Linked DNA regions of Homo sapiens: regions 2, 3 and 4 are each linked to region 1. Evidence: promoter capture Hi-C in 16 types of primary human blood cells and fetal thymus (Javierre and others, 2016). All regions are on one chromosome and are shown on one strand. Each heading gives the region's core, a stretch centred on a gene start or on the middle of the fragment in contact. The rest is flanking DNA. Distances are from core to core; before and after follow the strand shown. Region 1 holds the start of ECHDC1 (ethylmalonyl-CoA decarboxylase 1). Region 2 holds the start of L3MBTL3 (L3MBTL histone methyl-lysine binding protein 3). Region 3 has its middle 34 kb from the start of ARHGAP18. Region 4 holds the start of HDDC2 (HD domain containing 2).

Region 1 (3,713 bases), core at 1-2,500:
GTTTCAATGCCATGCTTCTTCACAGGCTGGCTTCCCTTCCTGGAATGTTAATCATTGCAGGAATCCCAGCTGATTATACAGTCGCCTTTCAGGCCAGAACCCAATAAAAAATCAAGAAAGGATCGCCCGTTCTATTACTGCGCTGCTCCCTCCCCTCGTAGATTTCACAAATATACTTCTCACCACAAGCTTGTCTGTTCCAAGAGAATGCTAGCTCTTCTAAAGAAGGAGCCCTTTGTTTTCCTTGCCCTTGTCCAGTTCCTCTGCATACCTCTAGCACCTAGAGCAACAACTGCTATACAGGAGCCCAGATGTGGAACAGAGCAAAGAACTGAGTGTTGATTTAATGTTGCCTGAAGTCCTTAACAGCACCTTCAACCTAAACTTAACTGTGTTTTTAATCCCCTACACGTGTAATCCCTGTATGTGTGCGCAGCGTTAAAAGGATTATTGTAGCTCAAAAATTCTCCAATGAAAGAACCTCTACCAGAAAGGAGTTGCTCATCTTTCGTTCTTGAAAAGTTGGCTGCACGATACAAGTAAGAAAAGTTTTAGTTAGGCAAGACAACTTATACATAAAAGACAATTATAGGGAACATTACCTAACTTAGCACAGGGCCTCGAATGTATTCCGAAATTAAATCAGCATGTAGAAAGCAAGCCTCCTCATGCTTTTTAAAGTGTAATCTCGCGACCTCGCGGCGCGCTCTGGGAAGACCGATTCATCTCTTCCCCTCGCCCTCTTTCCCCGGCCGGCGCACAGCCGGCCCGTGGCGCTCGGCACCGCGTCTCCACGTCCAGCGCGGGGCAGGCCTGCGCGGCGCTTGCAAGGGACAAGCCGCGGAGCCGGGGAGGCTCGCCGTCTGGGACACGTTTGGAGAAGCGAGCGGTACAGTCCATTCCACGGCGACATTTTAGGATTCTCCCACTGACAACACTAAACTGAAGCGCTAAGACCAACCCTTACGACCACTTACCGTCGCAGGCCACGGTGGTGACTTCCTTTTCCGCTCCCCTACACACGCTTTTCCGTTTTGCGTGCCTTTGTTTCCGCTCCCCCCGGGACCATCGTGCGCCCCTGTCCTCCGTTCTTGTAGGTCCTCTCCTCTTCTCCGCGTCTTCTCTTTTACTATCCCACGCTCTCCTTTCCTTTCTCCGGGAACTTTATCCCGTTCCCCTGCCGGTTCCCGTGACCCCGGAAATCCCGCTCCTGCCGCGAGGCGCCCTCCGCTTCGCGCTCCCTCGTGTCACGAGGGAGCCAGGGTGGGCGGTCTCCTATTGTACTTGGCTTTTGAATTTTCGCTTTTGCAGCACAAAGGTAGGGCTGGGAAAGGAGGCTGCCGAACCGTGCTTGTTTTCGCTCAGATAAACGTGAGAAAAAGTGGAGGTGAGGAAGCCAGTGTAGGCAAATAGCGAGAGGGGAGAAGACAGAAAGGTACCGAAGGTCGACCTTTTTTAGGTATCTTATCCAAGTTATTGAGGGGAATGGGTATTTAGCCAGTTTTTTGTTTGTTTGTTTTTATCCGAATATCCAGTGTGTGTCTTGAATGTGTGAATGTGACGTGTTTATAAAGCTCAGTAAGCTTAAAATTCCGTGCCAATACATTTTGTATGCCGCAGACAGGAAGTGCTTTGGAAGACCCTTGAAAGGGGAGGTGATTTTACACCAATATTGAGATCATTTTGTCAGAGTCGTGGGACTAAAGGTAGACCTTAGGTAGTCGATGTCAAAGATAAGCGCAGCTGGACGTTAAAGCGGTGAAAACATTCAGTTAACTACTGACAGGAAAGAGCTGAGCTCTATTTCGATTCGTGCAGAGATCATCTGGGCATTTTTAAAGGGACGTTTTAAAAGGAGAAAGGGGATATGCGGGCGCTCAGTAGAGAAAGTGAACCTACAGAGTTGTTAGTGTAAATGTGATTAGGCCAGCTGTGTGTTTGTGTGTGCGCGCGTTTTAACAGTTACCGCAGGATTCTATCCTCCTACGGAGGATTTTATCCTTCTCGATTACATTTCAAAGGAATGACTCTCTGGTCCTTGAGAGAGAACTTCTGAGTGGCAAGAAATAAGTCTTTACAATTGCAAGCCCTTTAGTAAACGTTCTAAGAAAGGGATGTCAGAGACCTATCATCAGTTGTGTGCTGGTTACATCACGTAGTTAAGCTTTCTGAGGCAGTCGCCCTGGGCACAGGGCCTTATGCTGCTAAAGCTTGCTAGAGTTTGGTCAAGTCTCTGAACGCAGGGGTTTAGATGGGATGGTCATGTTCCTGGAGTTCTGCAGTGGTCATAGGTATGATTTGAATAAGTACAGGGAATATTCTAGTCGGAGGAACAGAATGTGCCAACGCGCCGAACAGGGAGGATAGTTTTACGATACGGAGATGTGTATGATAGGGAATAAGTGGGAGCCCAGTTTGGACTAATTGGAAGAAGTCATTATTAGAAGTACTGTATTTAATTCTAGTTTGTTATAAAATGAGACTCCAAGATCACTGAGCCATTTCACTGAGACTCCAAGATCACCCCAATGCTAGGCTAATCTCCATGGCGCCTAGATCTATGCCCACTCCATTCCCCATGTTGGTCCCCATAGTTTCAGGCACCAGGCTCCAACACCAGGTTGGGCCCTACAGCCCCAGTCTCCAGGTTGGCACCAGTGGATATAGGCTTTAGGTCCACTGACTGCTGGTCCCTACAGCCCCAGGTTCCAGTGAACCCAGGTTCCAGGCCTGCTCCAACAAACCCAAGGTCCAGGTCTACCCCAGTAGACCCTGGCACCAGAACTACCCCAGAGGGCCTAGCCTACAGGCTACCACCCACAAACCCAGCCTCCATGATGGCCTCTGAAGAATCAGGCTTTAGGTCTTCCCCAGCACCAGACTAGACTGCTAGACTGATGTTCCACTTTTGTCCCCATGGACCCAGGCACCAGGCCCATCTGAGAGGTTTCTTCAGTTTTATTTTTCAGTAATAACTTTCATTCTTCTTTCTCAGTGATAACTGTAGTACTCAGTGGGCTTTCTATTTCTGGCTCCCATTTTCCATCTTTCTTTTTAACACTTTGGGAAAATATCCAAGTTAAACTCTATATAGTGGGGTAGGTGGACAATGAAAGATAAGTAAATACATAATATGTATAATCAACGGAGTGAAAAGACAGCCTGCAGAATGGGAGAAAATATTTGCAAACTATATATCTGACAAAGGGTTAATATCCAGAGTATATGAAGAAGTCAACTCAATAGCCAAAAAAAAAAAAAAAAAAATCCAATTTAAAAATGAGCAAAAGGCCTGAATGGACATTTCTCAAAAGAAAACATGATGATGACTAACAAATATATGAAAAAATGCTCAGCCAGGCACAGTGACTCACACCTGTAATCCCACACCTTGGGAGGCCAAGCAGGTGGATTGCTTGAGCCCAGAAGTTCAAGACCAGCCATGGGCAACATGGCAGAACCCTGTCTCTACAAAAAATCACAATTGGCTGGGCAATGTGGCATACACCTATAGTCCTAGCTACTCAGGAGCCTGAGGTGGGAGGATCACTGGAGCCCAGGAGCTTGAGGCTGCAGTGAGCCATGATCACACCACTGCATTCCAGCCAGGGTGACAGAGCAAGACTCTCAAAAACAAATACATACATTTTTAAAAAATTAAAAATAAATAAAAATAATCATAGGGGAAATGCAAATCAAAACCACAATGAGAT
Region 2 (3,713 bases), core at 586-3,085, 2.7 Mb after region 1:
AAATAGACAAAGAAATCTGGAACCTTAGCAGTGTTTCCTATTTGTTTGGACTGTTCTTGAACCAGCTCTGAGGCGGTGACCGGGCTATTGAAAAGATGCACCTGAAACAGGATCTGCGGGCAGCTGCATTTGCCACCCGGCTTTATTGCTGCTTTCCAGCGGCGAAGGCGCAGCAGCAGTAACAGGGAAGCCAGAGCGAGCCTCCCCGGCAGCGGCGGCGGCGGCGGCGGCACCGGCACCAGCGCAGTTTCCCCTCTCCCCAGCCCTGACTCTACGCGCACATGCGCATTGCGCCCGCAGCCCTGGACCATTTGTCAGGACTACTCGTGAGACGGAGAAAAAAAAAAGAGAAAATTTGGGGGTAAGAAGCGGTTGATCGGATCTAATCTCTAATTAATCTGAAGATTTGTCCGTGCAAAAGCCATTCATTTATTTTTCTGGGTGAGGATGAAAGTTAAGAGCCCTATAGAGGGAAGGAAGCGCACCCTCGTCTTGTGAAACAGATCAGGGGAGGGGAGGGACAGAAGGGGTTTCTCCCCCACTTCTCTGCGCCTCTGGGAAAGAGGAGAAAACTTAATCCCGGGGAAAAAAGTGGGCAAGTGACTCGGAAACGGCTGGAGGGGGAGTCTCTGGGCATCTCACTCTGAAGTAGTGAGTGCGAGTGTGAAAGAGGAACAAAAGAGAGAGAAAAGAGAAAGGAAAAAATGGGGGGAGGAGAGACTTGTATTTTTTTCTTTGCGCGCACACGGGGAAGGGTGTGGGGGGCCGTGCGGAAGGGAGCCGGGGCGAGGCGGCCGCGTTGGGCTCAGGCTGGCGCGCAGGCGGCGGGATGCGTGTGGCCCCCTCCCCCGCGCCCCCCGAGCTTGTCACTTTGGTCGCTTTCGTGACACCGGGCGCGGGGTGGGGGAGCGCGGCGGCGCCGGGCTCCACCGGGGTGCGTGTCCGGGTGGGCGCCGCGGAGCCGCAGCCCAGGCGGCGAGCGCGGCCGCCGAGGCGGGGGGCGCCGGCGGGGGGCGCGGGGGCGGCCGGGGCCGCGGATCGGTGCGGCGGGAGGCGCGAGCCCCGCGCGCCGCCCCTGCGGCCCCCTCCGCCCGTGTGGCCTTTGTGCCGGGCGCGCACCGGAGAGCGAGCGAGCGGGCGGGCGAGCGCGAGAAGTACAAGTACGGGAGACCGAGGCAGTGGGAAAAGAGGCCGGGCCACTTTCTCCCCTTTCGGGCTGCGGAGAATGGACTGGTTGAATGTGCAGGCGCGTCTCCCCGGCGTGTGCTGTGTGTGTGCGCGGCGGAAAGGCCTGCCCGACTCCCACCGCGCACACGCACACTCACACGCACGCACACACACGGACCCGCGGCGGGGCTCGGCGGCCGAGAGTTTGCGTGGCTTCCTCGCCGCCTCCCTCTTCCCAACCGAGTGTGTGAGAATTTCATATAGATCAGCTCCAATTTCCGCCATTTTGGGAAAGTTGCACAAAAATAAACCCTCCGGTTTATTTCTGCCCGAGGCAGGAAAGTGCTTTGGGAAGCGAGGCGGCGCGGGCCCGCGGCGGCCGTCCGCGCGGGAGAGGGCGCGGGCCGCGGGCCGGGCCGGGAGCCCGCGCCGTCGCGGCGTTCGCCCCGCGCCGTGCCGCGCCGCGCCGGCCCGGGTGCGGGCGCGGGCGCGGGCGTGTGTCGGGAGGCGGCGGCGGCGGTCGCGGCGGCGGCGGCCGCGCCGGGGCGGCGGGCTTGTGGGGGGAGGGTGGGGGCGGCGCGGGGCTGCTTTTCCTGCAACTTGTTTACGCCTGCCTTATTCTGGGGAGGAAAAGAGGGGTCGGGGCCGGGGCCGGCGCCGGGGCCACCGCCCGCCTCGCGCCGCGTGTGTGTGCGGTTCCGGAATAATGGGCTTTGCACACTCGCGTCCTGGGCCCCGCGGGCCGTCCTCGCGCCGCGGCGGCGGGGCGGGGGGAAGTAGAGGCCGGCGGGGGTGGGGATCGGGAAGCGCAGGAGCCGAGGCATCCGCCGCGCGCCCCGCGAGCTGGTGGAGTGTGGGGGCCGCCGGGCGGGGAGAAAAACTTGAGAGCCCTGGAAGGGGAGGAGGGCACGGTGGCACGGGCGGGGGGAGGGCGCAACTTTTGGACTGGTGGTAAAACTTTAATTACCTTTAAAGAAAAAAAGGCCCTGCGATTCCCCCCTCCCCCAGTCCCGGTCAAAGCACAGCCCGCAGCGCGACCGTGAGAGAAAGTTTAAAAGCGGGCGTGTTCCTCCCGGGTCCCCGCGGAGGGCTGGGGGCGTCGGTCTGTCCGTCGCGCTCAGAGGGAGGTGGGGGTAACTAGCCGCTTTCCAGGGCGCGGGGACCGCGGCTCTACCCCACCCTTCCACGGGAGACGGAGGTAAACGTTGCTTCGGTTTCCCTTCTGAGTCCCCCTGCTGCCACCACCCCGCTTCCTTTTCCTCCCCCTCCCCGCCGATTTTTTGAGGGGACCCGAAAAACGGAGTCCCTTTCCTTAGGCAACTTCCTCGGGCGCTGTGAGCACGGCCCTCCCCCTCACCGCCCCCACCCCCAACGCCTCGCATCCCTTGGCCCGCTTCTCCACCTCGGGGCCACCGCCAGAAAAATGCATTCGAGATCATTCAGAGTGCACAGAAACAAAAATAGATTTTTAATTGTTAGGTTAGGGGAAACTGAGATGAGAAATAAGAATTTGGGGTGGGGGGGCGCGGCCGGGGCGAGTGCGTCCAGTTCTCCTTTTGGTTTTCCTAGAGCGTTGTTTGTGATGTCTTTATTGGTTTAGGGAGTCCGAGAGGCTCTATGCTGGCTATCTCGGTCGCGTGGATTTTTGCGCAAGTTTTTAGAAAAACACTGACTCGAGTAGAGAGCATTTCTCCGGAAAGTTTCAAGTGCAGCAAAATAGCGAACGTGCAAAACTGGCCAAGGGGAGACCTCTAGTGGTTGAACGCGTCTTTTAAGTTCGGAAGGCCGAGAGCAAAGTTTGGCCTTTACTCGTAGCTACGTAGTCCGTTCAGACGTGGAAGTAATTAGAGGACCTGAGCGAGCAGCCAGATGTTGTGTGAAAGGATGCTGATCAGAAATTGAAAGTTTAGTAAATCGAAGCAATGAATTCTGAGGACTCAGACCCTGTAACTTCCATCCGACATGAGTTATATGGGAAAGACACTTTGCTTTTATTCAGAGATTTGAGATTGATCGCTCCCTGAATTGGAAACAATTGTTTGCTTTTGCATTTATCGGTGTCTGTACCTCTGATCAATTTTTAATTAACGAGTCTCAGCTGATGACTTTATTTTGAATGTTAAGAAAACTGCTAAGTTGAAATGTGTTTAAAACTTTGAAGAAATGGAAAAGACCTTTAGTTGAGATTTGTCTTTTATATGAGCTGTTCATTTTACTGTCTGATAAGTGTAAGGCAATTTTATATAGTTTCTTAGCTGTATAGTTATGTATAGTCCGAGTAAGTAGTCCCTTTTGGTTCTAAGACTGTAATTTTGTTTCACTGAGTACGAAATTATTTCTGAATACTTGTATAATTTGTGATTTAAAGTCCTTAAATACATGGGCAAAAATTTTATGTAATATCTATTCTTTTTCCAGTGTGTTTTCTGTAAAATATCTTTAATTTTAAAGATAAAAGCAGTGAGGGAAATTAAAGTTGACTCAAATGATCCTTGTAACTTTCACCTGCCTGTCATATACAACAGGAGAGACGTTATTGGGTGAAT
Region 3 (3,713 bases), core at 497-2,996, 2.4 Mb after region 1:
TCCACAATATATTATAATTGATTGTCTTCTTGTGTAACACCCTACACACAAGTCTAAAGGTAAGATCCCTAGATGGTAGGTCGTTTTCCTTTTTTTACTAAGGTAGACTGTCAGATAAGAGAGTCTTAAATATTGTTAAATTAATGAATCAATGAACAGTAAATTATGATACGAGCTCTTTTCAGGGAGGGAAAGCAAAATGAAATAGCAGATTAAGGTGCCTTGCTATATTCTTATTTCATCAACTAACATATGGTGTTCAAAGTCTTATTAAAAGTGTATTTCTGAGTAACCTCAGATCTCTCCATTTATTATCCAGTGAAAAAACATCTGTCAGTAATGGGTTATCCTGTAAAAAAATTAAAAAGGCTGGGTGTGGTAGCTCACACCTGTAATCCCAGCACTCTAGGGAGCCAAGGCGGGTGGATCACCTGAAGTCAGGAGTTCAAGATCAGCCTGGCCAACATGGTGAAACCCCATGTCTACAAAAATACAAAAATTAGCCAGATGTGGTGGCACATGCCTGTAATCCCAGCTACTTGGGAGGCTGAGGCAGCAGAATCGCTTGAACCCAGGAGGCAGAGGCTGCAGTGAGCCGAGATTGTGCCACTGCACTCCAGCCTGGGCAACAGAGCGAGACTCTGTCTCAAAATAATAAAAAAAAAAAAAGAAAAAAAAGGACTAAATATCACTGAATATACATTTTAAAATGGGTAAAATTATGTTTCATATTATGTATATTTTACCACAATAAAAAAGCAAATAGAAACAAGAATTATTTTCTAATTGTTATGGGAGAGGGAAACATACTTAGTAAACTAATACAATACCTACAATTTTTTAACCAATTTCTTTGAATGGACAATTTTTAAATGTGTTGAGCTGAAATTGAAAACAAATCTAAGGGTAGAAACAAAGCAAGTGAAATGAAGTTATGAAAGCATAGATCCATGTTTTTATTATAAAATGAAACCACAAAGAGCCCCTTAATTAGAGAAAACAGAGAGCTATTACTGTAAATGACATCCCCATTAGTACTACTTAAATGGCAAGGGACAGCTTACAGCTCACGTGTGACTATGAAGTTAACTGGTTTTACAATAAAACACATTCTAACACTGTCTAAGAACTGTCTATGAGTGAGATTTTTATGTGGTTCATAAGCTTATTCCAAAAGACATCCCGGTATAGGGGTTCCTAGGGTACTTTGACATCTGAGGGACAAGTTGTAATAACAGATCCTTGAGCCCTTTACTCATAAATTTTCTTCAAAGGGGATAATGTTTCTGCTTTGATTTAGACTAATCAGCAGTGACTTTATAGGCAAACTGCTTCTTTATTTTGGAACTTTAATCAAAAGCTCTAGTCTTTATAATATATACAGAAAAAGCAACTACATTTAAACTCAGTCCATCATTCACGTGACTTATAGATATACAGATCAAACACATTCTGCTTCTTTTATTTTTGCCATTCTCAAAAATAAAGCACTTCTTAAATTGCTTTAACTAAGATTTTCCAGGTTTCCTTTATATATTATGTAACGTGTAACTCTGAGGAAAAAAATCATCAGTGAAGAAATAGTTAATCATATAAAAAAAAGTGCCAGCCCAACCACAGAAACAACACTTTCCTAGAAATAGTCAAAGCATACCAGATAAAGAGCAGTAACAACTTTCTAAAAACAAATTCCCGAATTTTCTGTGCACCTCTTGTAGTTATTTTTCTTAATCAAATGTGAAAAAGATAAGGGAAAAAAGTATTATCCATTGACTCTGATGATGTGGTGGCAAACAATAAGGTTAGTATTTTCTGTCACCTTTTTCTTGAGATGAGGCTAGGAATCCCTGTACTTTTTAATCCCCAGTATCTGCCATAGGCCACATGGAGTTAATGGATTTATTTTTTCCACTACTTCTTGTAGACAGATAATCCAGGATCATAAAATAGAAGAAACCAGTTCACACAGACTGAGTGCAGCCAAGTGGCCATCAGCTTCTTCCTGTTCCACTTCACTGAGCAATTACTGAACAGACGAGCTGTACAGACTCTAAATGAACATCGTCACTACCTCTCACTTGTTTTTTGCTTCTGACCTCTTTAAAGGTTCGGACAAAGTAGGTACATTTTGTAGAAACCTAAATAACTTATGAGAGGAGTACAAAGTAAAAGCTAGTTATCAATTCTGCATGGCCTGCCATGCCCTTTCACCATCCTGGGGACATAACTTCCCCCCAAATGATTCCAGTATCAAATACCATTATTTTGTTGCTACTTGATCTACTTCTAAGGCCTAGTGTTTAGACCTTGACATATAGCTTTGTCAAACAAAGCTTCCATCCTCCCCACTCTGCAGCTTCTCTCCCTAGTCCCATGACCCTCTCTCTCTCCACGGAATTCTACACTTGAATCTCTGACTCATCCCTTTGTGTTTTCCCAGAGTTGACACTTGATCTGCTTGGGCTGTGGTCCCAGCCCATCCCTTACAACTTAGCTAACTTTCCCTATACTTGTCTTCAGAGATGCTGGACTTACGATATCAACCAACCTGCTCTCTAGCTGACCAAATTCCAGACACTGGCACCCCGGGCCTGCTACTTCACTGTAATTTGTAGACTGCATACTCGATACAATAAAGAGTATGAAGTTATTATGTTGGTGCAAAAGTAATTGCGGTTTTCATTACTTTTGATGGCAAAAACCGCAATTACTTTTGCACCAATCTAATATTTGGCAGTAATGCCCAAGCTATTTGGGGAGGTGGGAGAAGGGACACATTTGCACAGCTAAAGACTAAGACTTGATAATAAGAACTCTGATTCAAAAACGAGACATATATCAAGGGAAAAACTACATCTTGTCAGCACAATGTGAAACATGCAAGAGGCTTCAGAGAACTGTAATATGTGACACATCGAATAAGCTTACCTCAAAATATAAGTGAAGAGAAAGGTATCAGAACATCCTTTAAAGTACATTATATGCAAAGTTAGTAAGAGTAAGTTTGGCCATTTTCAACAAATCCTTTTTTTCCCACATAACCACAGATATAAAAGAATCTCTGGATAATATTACAGGAGTAATAGTGGAGGAGACACAGAAAAGCACGTGCAGTCTCTACCATCCAGGTACAAATAGCAGGAAACAATTATGTATATAATAAAAGTTTTCCCAACCCTCTGTAAAACCCACAACAGAAGCAGAATGTTGGAAACTTGCAGGCTTCTATCTAGGTTGGGGGAGCTTTTCTCTGGTTATATATGTTTACCAAGAATTGGCAAGCTATTAGCTAGTTGGACCTATTATTCCAATCAGATAAATTTTATATCAAACTGATGAAATGAGTTCAAAAAGAATGGCTTCTATAAAAACAAACGTGAATGCCACATGAATCCTTCAAAAGGCAGGTTGCCAAGAAAAACTGCAGTTGAATTAGGAGAGAGCTAGACAGCTATAAAAAAACTAGAGAGAAATTTATAAAAATCTAGAATTCGGCCGGGCATGGTGGCTCACACCTGTAATCCCAGCACTTTGGGAGGCTGAGGTGGGCGGGTCACCTGAGGTCAAGAATTAGAGACCAGCCTGGCCAACATGGTGGAACCCTGTCTCTGCTAAAAATACAAAAACTAGCCAGGTGTGGTGGTGCATGCCTGTAATCCCAGCTACTTGGGAGGCTGAGGCAGGAGAATTGCTTGTACCTGGGAGGCGGAGGT
Region 4 (3,713 bases), core at 346-2,845, 2.0 Mb before region 1:
CTGAGGCAACATAACCCACATCCTAAATTTGTATGGTTTGCTTCAAATAATTTTTCTTGACCTATAAACTAACCTACAAGGATTTGACATGGGTCTCAGTAGTAAAAACGGGTGCACACCCATAGACCAGAATCTCTCACGAGCATCAAAGTCCAGCTCAGCTTACCGGTCTTTGTTAAGACGGTCATCTTTGATCACCATAGCCATAACTGCCATCCGGTACATGTGATCTGAAACGCTCTCCGGCCTCTGGACATTTCTGTATACCCAGCCAGTTCGTGGGACTCTCTGATAAATATGAAGAAGAAAAAGAAGTTTTAAAGAACAAATATTAACTATCTGCTATGCTCTTCAAGAGATGTCCAGGATATAACACACAGAAGCCGGGTCATAATTTCAGAACCTATTACAAAATGTTTTGCTAAACTAGCTAAAATGATAGACATCTGGAATCAAATGAACTAGAGAGCTCAGAGAATGAAAGGGGTAGAAGACAGAGAGAGATAAGTCACAAAGTCCATTCGTCAAATTATTCTGTTACTGATGTATAATTATGGAACATATGCAAGTCCTTTAAACAAAAACAAAACTGCATTTTTCCGAACAAGAGTTGCGGCTTTTTGCCTTCAAATAATCCTACACAAGCAGAAAACACTGTATTGAAGGGTCTGAACGTGAACGAGTGATAGGCTTCCAAATTCTGAGGCACAAGGGATAAGGGCACTTCTAATTGCTTGATGCTACCAGCCGTGACTCTTCCTTTTATTCACATCATAACTTCATCTTGTGAAACTGCATTTCTTCCTCAGAATTCTACATCTCTAAGGAATGTTATAAATAGTAGTCAGAGTGGCATGAAACGGATAATTTACTTTGAACTTGGGAGAGAGACGGGGAAGACGCACATGATGAAACTCGTGTGTATTACATTAAATCCCGTTTGGGGGGTGGCCGGGAGAAAAGTCTTGTTTCTGGAAGTAACTGTGAGACAGACATAAAAAGCTCCACTTAAAATCTGAGGAGCCGACAGATTCTGTTCTTCCCACCCGTGCTCAGAAGCAGCCGCGCTTTACACACACACACACACACACACGAGTTCTGGGGTCGTGAGCACACACACACACACACACACACACGAGTTCTGGGGTCGTGAGCCCCGGAAAAGCTCAGTGCAGGCAGGGCCAGGCCGGCTGCTCTCCGGGAACTGGCGCGGCTGCAGTGCGGACCTCGCGGCGCCAGGCTCTAGGCTCAGACTCCGGGCCGCCCCAGCTGGCCAGCCTGTCCCGCCGGCTGCTTCCTCCGTCCACCGTCGGCAACGCGCGGCCGCATCCGCAGGACTGGGGCCTTTCCGGAATTCGGCGTGGCGGACGCGGCGCAGGAAGGGCAAAGACCGCCGGCCGAGCGGGGAGGCCGGAAGCTCCGCCGCCCCACAGTCCCGCCCGCTCGGCCGCGGCCTCCCGGCCTGGTGCCCGCTCACCTTGAGCTGCCCTACCAGCCGCAGGAACTGCAGTAGGGACCGAGCCCCGTGGCCCGAGAAGGTCGCAGAGGAGACCGAAGCCATGCGGCCACCGACCCCGGCTGGGCGGAGCAGGCCGCGGCGAAGCTCCTCCCCGTCCTCCTCCTCCTCCCCTTCCCCTTGTCTTTCTTCCCCCTCCTCTTACTCTTCTATCTCTTTCTCCTCCCCCTCTTCTTCTTCCTTCTGCCCCTCTTCCTGCTCCCCCTCTTCCTCCTCCCCTTCCAACTCCTCCTCCTCCTCCCCCACTTCCGCTTTCTCCTCTTCCTCTTCCTCCTGCCCCTCTTCCTCTCTCCCCCTCCTCTTCCTCCTCCTCCTGTTCTTATTCCTCCTCCCCCTCCTCCTCCTGTTCTTATTCCTCCTCCCCCTCCTCCATATTCTCACGGTTTTCTCAGGACCTTCTGTCCAGCCTTCGCCTTCTTGGCCTTGGTGTCCGCTGCTTGGGCATTGCTCCGTCAGTGGCAGACACCTTGCTTGGCACATACTTGACACTCAGTACTCTTTATGAAAAATAAAGCTCTCCTTTCTAAATTTATGAACCTCGTTATTCTTCAGTTGACAGTGTAAAACCATGAAACTGGATGAGGTCACCTGGCAAGAGGGTGTGAATGAAGAAGAAAAGACACCCAAGACCTGAACCCCAACATTTAGGCTTTGTGAGATCAAGAGGGAACAGCCAGTGAGGTAGGAAGAGGATTAGTAGGTAGGATAGTTGTGTCCTGGAAGCCATGTACAAAAATATTTCAAGAAGGAAGGAATATGGTCAACCAAGTCAATGTGAGGACCAAGGTTTGACTTCCAGACTTAGTAAATTCAATATTATTGGTTACCCTGACAAAAGCAGTTTTCAGTGTAGTGGGCCAAGCAGAACCTAGTGAGATAATTCCGAAGAGAATAGGAGCAAGTATTACAGCACATTGGAGATGGGGTTGGGGTGCTGTTAACTAGTGGAGAGATTGTTTCAAAACAGGAGATATTATGTATGTTTACTGATGAAGGGGATCTAGTAGAAAGGGAAACATTGATTATGTAAGAGACAAAGAAGAGAAATATTTGAATGTCGGCCTTGAGTAAGGAAAAATATTCCCATCTGGTGTACAAGATAAAAGATGGGCTTTAGATAGGAATATGGAGAATTCATTCAAATATTGGAGGAGGACAGAGTATAGGGTGACTAATCAGTCGCACATGTGGTCATGGGAGGTTGTAGAAGTTCTCTTCTGATTGCTTCTATTTTCTCACCAAATTAGGAAGCAAAGTATAGGCTGGGATGTTATAATAACAAACAACCTCCTTATTTCCTGTATCTCAGCAGTTTAACACATCAAAGGTTTATTTCTCTCTCATGCTAAGTGTCTATTGTAGATCAGCTAGAGGATGCTGCTTGCTCTAACCTTACTCAGGGAGCTAGGAGGCTTTCTTTGCTCTCTTTTGCCAAAATTGGAAAAAAGAAAAGTGGCACTCTGGCTCTTAAAGCCTGTCTCTGGAAGTGATATATGACCTTTTGTCTACGTATCATTGGTGAAATAAGTAACACTGCCACGTCTAACTTCAAAGGGGGCCTGTGGAGTGCAATCTTGCTAGGCCTCTGGGAAGAAAGGAGGCTAGAATGTTTGTGAATAGAGGAGGAGGCATTTGAGGTTTAAGGAGTGATATAGTTTGGCTCTGTGACCCCACCCAAATATCATGTCAAACTGTAATCCTCAAAGTTGGAGGAGGGGCCTGGTGGGAGGTGATTGGATCATGGTGGCAGACTTCCCCCTTGCAGTTCTTGTGATAGTGAGTGAGTTCTCATGGGATCTGGTTAATGGTGTGTAGCACTTCCCCCCTTTGCTCTCTTTCTCTTCTGCTCTGCCAGGTGAAGACGATGCCTGCTTCCCCTTCACCTTCTACCATGATTGTGAGTTTCTGCAGCCATGCTTCCTGTACAGCCAATGAAATACCTTTTCTTTATAAATTACCTAGTCTTAAGTAGTTCTTTATAGCAATGCAAGAATGGACTAATACAAGGAGAAAGAAGGCATGAAATAATTTTTTTGAAGACTGGTTCAGCAACAAGATTAAATATGACTAAGAACCAAATAAATGCCAAGGACATTGGGGCTTGTATTAAACGTGGTTAGGATAATGACCTGGAAGCCATTTTTATGATGGTAAGTGGTGCTAAATAAAGGAAATATCAAGCCAGGTGTGGTTTGTG

Evidence for each region. Contacts are between HindIII fragments. The CHiCAGO score rates a contact against its expected background, and 5 or more counts as called.
Region 2: a contact is called between a fragment that was not itself captured here and the fragment with the promoter of ECHDC1 in region 1, in 2 of 17 cell types (fetal thymus and non-activated CD4 T cells). The highest score is 8.1, in fetal thymus.
Region 3: a fragment that was not itself captured here is called in contact with the fragment with the promoter of ECHDC1 in region 1 in 1 of 17 cell types (non-activated CD4 T cells); the score reaches 6.6 in non-activated CD4 T cells.
Region 4: the fragment with the promoter of HDDC2 here is called in contact with the fragment with the promoter of ECHDC1 in region 1 in 2 of 17 cell types (total B cells and naive CD8 T cells); the score reaches 5.3 in total B cells.

What each region holds. Positions count from the first base shown.
Region 1 is chr6:127,342,359-127,346,071 of GRCh38, forward strand. It overlaps ECHDC1 (ethylmalonyl-CoA decarboxylase 1), which reads right to left and starts at 1,251. Exons shown (of 6, transcript NM_001002030.2): 1 at 978-1,251. RefSeq lists enhancers at 536-1,409, 2,284-3,157. The HindIII fragment of the contact is 1,394 bases long and covers 188-1,581 here.
Region 2 is chr6:130,018,304-130,022,016 of GRCh38, forward strand. It overlaps L3MBTL3 (L3MBTL histone methyl-lysine binding protein 3), which reads left to right and starts at 278. Exons shown (of 23, transcript NM_032438.4): 1 at 278-361. RefSeq lists silencers at 758-887, 1,838-2,077, 2,128-2,197 and an enhancer at 2,558-2,617. The HindIII fragment of the contact is 3,997 bases long and covers 1-3,713 here.
Region 3 is chr6:129,742,398-129,746,110 of GRCh38, forward strand. No RefSeq gene overlaps it. Among named protein-coding and RNA genes, the nearest start is that of ARHGAP18, 34 kb to the left of the region's middle. The HindIII fragment of the contact is 1,169 bases long and covers 1,163-2,331 here.
Region 4 is chr6:125,300,372-125,304,084 of GRCh38, forward strand. HDDC2 (HD domain containing 2) reads right to left here and starts at 1,596. Exons shown (of 6, transcript NM_016063.3): 1 at 1,478-1,596; 2 at 167-288. The coding sequence starts at 1,561. RefSeq lists a silencer at 1,286-1,625 and a cis regulatory region at 3,119-3,299. The HindIII fragment of the contact is 13,888 bases long and covers 1-3,713 here.